Regions from separate parts of the Homo sapiens genome. Here region 2 is linked to region 1. Evidence: promoter capture Hi-C in human tissues and cell types (Jung and others, 2019). All regions are on one chromosome and are shown on one strand. Each heading gives the region's core, a stretch centred on a gene start or on the middle of the fragment in contact. The rest is flanking DNA. Distances are from core to core; before and after follow the strand shown. Region 1 holds the start of ULK2 (unc-51 like autophagy activating kinase 2). Region 2 overlaps SPECC1 (sperm antigen with calponin homology and coiled-coil domains 1).

Region 1 (3,251 bases), core at 540-3,039:
AGACTCCGTCTCAAAACAAACAAACAAACAAACAAAAAACCTTCATGTGGCTAGGTGAGGTGGCTCACACCTATAATCCCAGCACTTTGGGAGGCCGAAGTGGGCGGATCGCTTGAAGTTGGGAGTTTTGAGACCAGCCTAGCCAACATGGTGAAACCCCACCTCTACTAAAAAAAAAAAAATTAGCCGGGCATGGTGGTGCAGGTCTGCAATCCCAGATACTTGGGAGGCTGAGGCAGGAGAATCACTTGAACCCAGGAGGCGGAGGCTGCAGTGGGCCGAGATCATGCCATTGCACTCCAGCCTGGGCAACAGAGCAAGACTCTGTCTCAAAACAAAAAACAGGCCGGGCGTGGTGGCTCACGCCTGTAATCCCAGCACTTTGAGAGGCCGAGACAGGCTGATCCCTTGAAGTTGGGAGTTTGAGACCAGCCTGGCCAACATGGTGAAACCCCATCTCTACTAAGATACAAAAATTAGCTGGGCGTGGTGGTGCGTGCCTGTAATTCTAGCTGCTTGGGAGGCTCAGGCAGCAGAATCACTTGCACTTGGGAGGCAGAGGTTGCAGTGAACCAAGATTGTGCTACCGCACTCCAGCCTGGGTGACAGAGTAAGATTCTGTCTCAAAAAAAAAAAAAAAAAAAAAAGTAAACAAAAAAATAGACTGTAGAGAATCTTTCAGTGAGGTAAGGAATCATCTCCATCCATTTTTGGGTGTATGTGCAAACTTGCTTAAGTTGCTGTCAACTTTTGAAGGCTCCAGATTTTCAGTGTCTAACACAACCACCTGGGCCAGATGTAAGTAAGGACAGGATAACGTAAGCGTGCACAGTAGCAGAAGCAGAAACTCAAGGCCCTACGTTTTGAGCGTGTGAGGAAGGAGCGTTCTCTCAGAATCCTGGAGCTGACTCTGTCATGGTTCAGAGATCAGCTTGCAGGGACAGGCAGTGGCAGTCGAGGTGGTGACAGACCCCAAAAGCACATACCCTATACAACCGAACACACACTCAAGTGTGGAGCCTGCGTATTCCATGGTAGTTTCAAGCATATTGTTTATTAAATGGTTTCATAAGACACTTCTTTGCGGGAAACCTGACAATCTGTTCCTTGTCACTTGGACAGCTTTAACAATCAGGTAGAAAAGAAAGCTCCCTTCGGCCATGTGAAGTAAGCCCGAGGTCAAACTAGCCTGACACTAGGAGCTCCCAGGAGAACCTTGAAAACGTGTGCGATTCTGAGTCGGTGTGCAGAAACGATTCTCTGCGAAGAGGGCCCTGAGCTGTCACCAGCTTCTCGCAGTCAAGGGACCCCCAAAAGGTGCAGAATCCCGCCTGTCACCGTCCCTCTAGGGATCCTAAGCGAGTAAACCCCGAGAGGCGTCCGAAGGCTGGCAGTTTGGCAGCGTGAACTCTGGTTTTCCAGAGCGCGGGCAAAGCCTGGAGTAGCAGTTGCTCCTTTGCTCTGGCAGGAATCTGGGGGTCTACCCTGCGCAGATAATCCCGTCCTGCCTGCAGCTGGGGTTCAAGACCCGCTTCTCTGAAGTCCGCCTCCCAGCGGCCTGGAGCCCGGGGCGTGGTCGGCTCGAATCTGCTCCCCAGGCCCAGAACGGAGCCCGCAGCCCGTAACCCGCTGTGGCCGCAGCGGGTCGCGCCCTTCGTCCCCGCCTCAGGAGCGGCCGAGGATCTGCCCAGCTGCGGGCGCCAAGCCCTGGCCGCACTCCTTTCCCCGGCGGAGGGAGCCGGCTGGCGCTGCGGCCTTCAAGGCGCGCGGACGTCGCGGAGGGCAGCCAGTCGCGCGGGAGCGGGTAGCGCGCGCGAGGGCGTTGGGCGCCGCCGCGAGGCGGGGAAGCGCGGGGCCGCGGCGGTGCGGGTTCTAGGGCGGCGGCCGTCGCCGTCGCAGCAGCGCCCCGAGCGGGGAGGGCCGAGGAGGCCCGACGAGCTGGGGATGGAGAGTACCGGGCCCCTCACTGCCTCAGAGCGCGTGTGCGGCTCTGGGCGCGCACAGTGACGGTGACGGCACCCCTGGCCCGGCAGCGCCGAGGCCGCTTCGCCAGACAGCCAGCGGCCGGCGGCAGGCCGGGCCATGAGCGGCAGGGGCCGGGCCGGGCCTCGCTGACCCTGGCTCCGCGCGGCAGCTTCCCCAGTTTCCGCTCCGGTCTCTCGGCATGAGAGTCCGCCCGGGCCCGGGGCTGCGGCTGCCCCAGACCCGCCGCACGCTGGCGCGCTCCGGGCCCGCGGAGCCGCGGTGCTGATACCTGCGCCGCACTGCGCCGCCCGCCCGTCCGCTGTGTGCCCCGGGGGCGCGGCCATGGAGGTGGTGGGTGACTTCGAGTACAGCAAGAGGGATCTCGTGGGACACGGGGCCTTCGCCGTGGTCTTCCGGGGGCGGCACCGCCAGGTGAGCGCCGGCCGGGGCGAGGCCGGGCCCCGGGCGGCAGGCACGGGGCTAGGTGGTTCTGAAACTTGGCGCAGCCGCGAGCCGAGACCCCCGACTCGGCTAGCCGCCCGGGTATGCTATTGTGCGCGCAGCCCGTCTCGCCGTTTGTTTTGGTCCTGTGAGGGTTGTTGTGAGGCCCAAGCCTCTGGCAGCGCTCCGCCTACCGACCGGCTGCTGCTGATCCTCCTGTGTGCCCGGGGCCCACCCCGCGGTCCGCCCGCAGGAGCGTTTGCACCCAGGTTACCCTGGACCCAAAATAGACGGTACTGCACCGTGCAGACTCGAGGGTTGGGCGTGAATGGACCTTTGGTTTTTTTCCCCGTGCCCAGGGCTGGTCACTTTTGAGGTTGATAATTACAGACCCAGCGGAAAATGGGCGGATGTCCCATTAGCCTCAGGCTTTCGCAGCCTGGGAGGTGTCACCTTTCCCAGCACTGGTCCCCTGCACCCCGAAGAGCCCCCGTACCGTTTTCCCCCCCGGAGTCAGATAGACGAGCTCCGGGTGAGAAAGGTGGTTGGACAATTCATTTTCAATCACCTTGAACATGAAATCACCTTTAAGCCTTAAAAAAATTGTTTTAAGCCTTTGCTGTTTCGCAAGTACAGTTACACGAGGTTTTAGAATCTAAAGAATTTGGAAAGGCATATCGGGAGTGGAAATAATCTTAAAGGGTGTGGCAGTTCTGATTGTTGCCCAAGGGGCGTGTTAAAAGTGGGCTGACTTTGTTGCTTATCGGATGAAGTAATGCTACTTTTCTTATTTATTTATTTATTTATTTTTGAGACAGAGTCTCGCTTTGTCGCCGAGGCTGGAG
Region 2 (3,251 bases), core at 534-3,033, 380 kb before region 1:
TTTAATGGTTAATAGGTATATGAAAAGATGCTCAACATCACTAATCATCAGGGAAATGCAAACCAAAACCACAGTGACACGCCACCTCACATTTATTAGGAAGACCATCATCAAAAAAAAAAAACTGAAAAAGAACAAGTATTGGTGAGGAGGTAGAGAAAATGAAACTCCTGTGTACTGTTAGTGGGAATGTACAATGGTGCAGCCATTACGCAGAACAGTATGGAGGTTCCTCAAAAAATTAGAAATAGTACTACCAAATGATCCAGCAACACCACTTCTAGGTATTTATCCAAGAAAATTGAAAACAGGATCTCAAAGAGATACTTGCACTCTCTTGCTCATTGCAGCATAATTCACAACAGCCAAGACGTGGAAGCAACCCCAGTGTCCACCACCAGATGAATGGACGAAGAAAATGTGGTATAGAATATACAATGGAATATTATTCAGCCTTAAAAAAGAAGGAAATCCTGTCCCATGCTACAACATAAATGAGTTTTGGAGACATTATGCTAAGTCAAATACACCAGTCACTGAAGGACAAGAGCGGCATAACTCTATGTACGTGAGGAATCTAAAGTAGTCAAAATCACAGAAGCAGACAGTGGAGTGGTGGCTCCCAGAGGCCTCAGGGAGGGGAAGTGGGGAATTGTTCCGTGGATACAGAGTTTCAGTCAGGCAAGATAACAAAGTTCTAGAGGACAGAAAGATGGCAACAAGAGACACTGGGGAGTGCTAGAGGAGGGGGAGGCAAGCACTGAAAACCTGTTGGGTACTATGCTCACTACTTGGGTGATGGGATCAATCATACCCCAAACCTCAGCATCCCACAATATATCCATGTAACAAATCTGTACATGTACACCCTGAATCTGAAATAAAATTAAAAATTTAAAAAAAAATTTTTCTAGAGACCTGCCATACAATATTGTGCTTCTAGTTAACAATACTTAAAAATTTGTTAATAGAGTAGATTTCATGGTGTATTTTTTTTACTGCCATTTAAAAAAGCATTTCAGAATGCAAGTAAGCATGATATTATTCAAGGAAAAACCTTGAAAAACACCCTCTGTTTTTCTAAAAACACAACTGTTATCATAGCATTATATTGTTTTGTACACCATTTTGCTTCTTTCACTTACTGTATCTTAGAAGTCATTCTATACCCACCATCACCCACCATCTTGGCAGCTTCCTCTGAGAAGTGCCACAAGAGGCCAAGTAAGTGGCTCTGGGGACAGATGGCACCACCCACCTGTGAGACTCTGGGTTACTTAATTTTCTGTGCCTTATTTTCTTTATTTATAAAATGGCAACGATACTAAACGTACTTACCTCAAAGGGTTATGGGAGGATTAAATGAGTTAAATCCAGTTAGAACAATCAAAACACAGCCCAGCAGATAGTAAGCATTCAGTAGATCTTAGCTATTTTCATTACCATAATTTATTTTACTGATTCTCTATTGATATTCATGTTGATATTGATATTAGGAACAATGCTGCAATGAACAACCTGGTACATTTGCCTGTGCAGGGCCATTCTGAGGCTTTCCAGAACATTATTTTCTCTTAGAGGCTCTACTTCATAGCATATTAAACACAATTCCATGTATCCACATCCCACAAAAATATAATGGTCGTGGTATACAGTTTTCAAAAGTAGTTTTAAATCTTGCTTTTGAAGTTGGCTGAACAAAAGTGACAATATGGGGCATTCCTATCCCATTCACAATCCTGTGGGAAAGCATCCGATATTTCACCATTAAGTATGATGTTTGCTGTAGATATATAATACAGACCCTTTATCAGATTAAAGACTTTCCCTTCTATTCCTACTTTTCTAAGAATTTCCATCAAGAAAGATATTAATCTTTATCGACTACATTTTCCTGCCACCACCTACTAAGATGACCATATGCTTTTTTTTTTTTTTTTTGAGATAGAGTCTTACTCTGTCGCCCAGGAGTGGAATGGCAATGATCTCAGGTGACTGCAACCTCCGCCTCCTGGATTTAAGCCATTCTTGTGCCTCAGCCTCCCAAGTAGCTGGGGGTTACAGGCGTGCACCACCACGCCCAGCTAATTTTTGTATTTTTAGTAGAGATGGGGTTTCGCCATGGTGACCAGAGTGGTCTTGAACTCCTGGCCTCCAGTGATCCACCTACCTTGGCCTCCCAAAGTGCTGGGATTACAGGCATAAGCCATTGTACCTGGCCAACCATATTCTTTTTATACCTTTGTTAATGTGGTGAATTACTCTGGTTGGCTTCAATATTAACCACCTTCCATTCCTGGAATAAACCCAACATGACATGATCTTTTTCATGTGTCTCTGAATAAGGTTTTCCAAGATTTTGTTCAGGATTTTTGCAAAGAGGTTCGTGAGAAAGACCTTTTAATTTTCTTGTCTATTAATGTTCTTGCAACTATTAGGGATCAAAGCTATGCTGACCTCTTTCCTAGTCTCTGAATTTACGTAAGATTGACATTATTTCTTCCTTAAATGTTTGGGAGGTTTCATGGTGAAGCCATAAGGCCCTGGCATTTCTTTTAAGGAAAAGATATAAATTATAGGTGATTGAGATTTTCTACTACTCTCTCCTATGTAAGTTTAGCACGTTACATTTTTCTAAGATTTTGACCATTTCATCAATATTTTCTAATTTATAGCACAAAGTAGTAATATATAATATTCTCTTACTATTGCTTTAATAATTATGAAATCTTTAGTGATGTACCCATTTACAAATTCCTGATACAGGTAATTTTGCATTAGCTTTTCTTGTCAGATGTTTTGAATTTTAATAGTCTTTTAAAAGAACAAACTCCATGCAGAACTCCTTTAAATAGTCTTTTCACTGCAAGTATCCTAGGAAAAAACATCTGGTTTTGTTGGACTCAAAGCATCTTTCTTTTGTGTTCACCTTTGAAGGGTATTTTCACCAGGTACAGCACTTTGAAGCATATTTTCATGAGGTAAAGGAAAGCAGGTGTTTTCTTTCAGCATTTTGCAGATGCCACTGCATTGTCTTCAGGGCTTCCATCATTCTTCTTGAGAAGAAAGATGTCAGTTTTGCTCTTCCTCCTTGGACATTGAGGTATCTTTTTTCTTTTGGGTGCTTTTAGGATGCTTTCTCTTTCATTTCCAGCAGTTTTAACCTCATGTGTCTGGGTGGTTTTCTTTGTACTTATCTCACTTGGGGTTCTTATTGTTTCTTGAATCTGGGCTTGACATCTTTTATCAGT

What was found. The method cuts DNA at HindIII sites, captures the fragments that hold promoters and counts their contacts. A contact is called where the count stands out against the background at its distance.
Region 2: a fragment that was not itself captured here is called in contact with the fragment with the promoter of ULK2 in region 1 in 1 of the 25 tissues and cell types used here (dorsolateral prefrontal cortex).

The regions. Positions count from the first base shown.
Region 1 is chr17:19,866,474-19,869,724 of GRCh38, reverse strand. ULK2 (unc-51 like autophagy activating kinase 2) reads left to right here and starts at 1,789. Exons shown (of 27, transcript NM_014683.4): 1 at 1,789-2,397. The coding sequence starts at 2,308. RefSeq lists silencers at 1,736-2,325, 2,406-2,585 and an enhancer at 2,164-2,672. The HindIII fragment of the contact is 32,590 bases long and covers 1-3,251 here.
Region 2 is chr17:20,249,915-20,253,165 of GRCh38, reverse strand. All of the region lies in intron 9 of SPECC1 (sperm antigen with calponin homology and coiled-coil domains 1), which reads right to left. Among named protein-coding and RNA genes, the nearest start is that of FAM106B, 170 kb to the left of the region's middle. The HindIII fragment of the contact is 6,970 bases long and covers 1-3,251 here.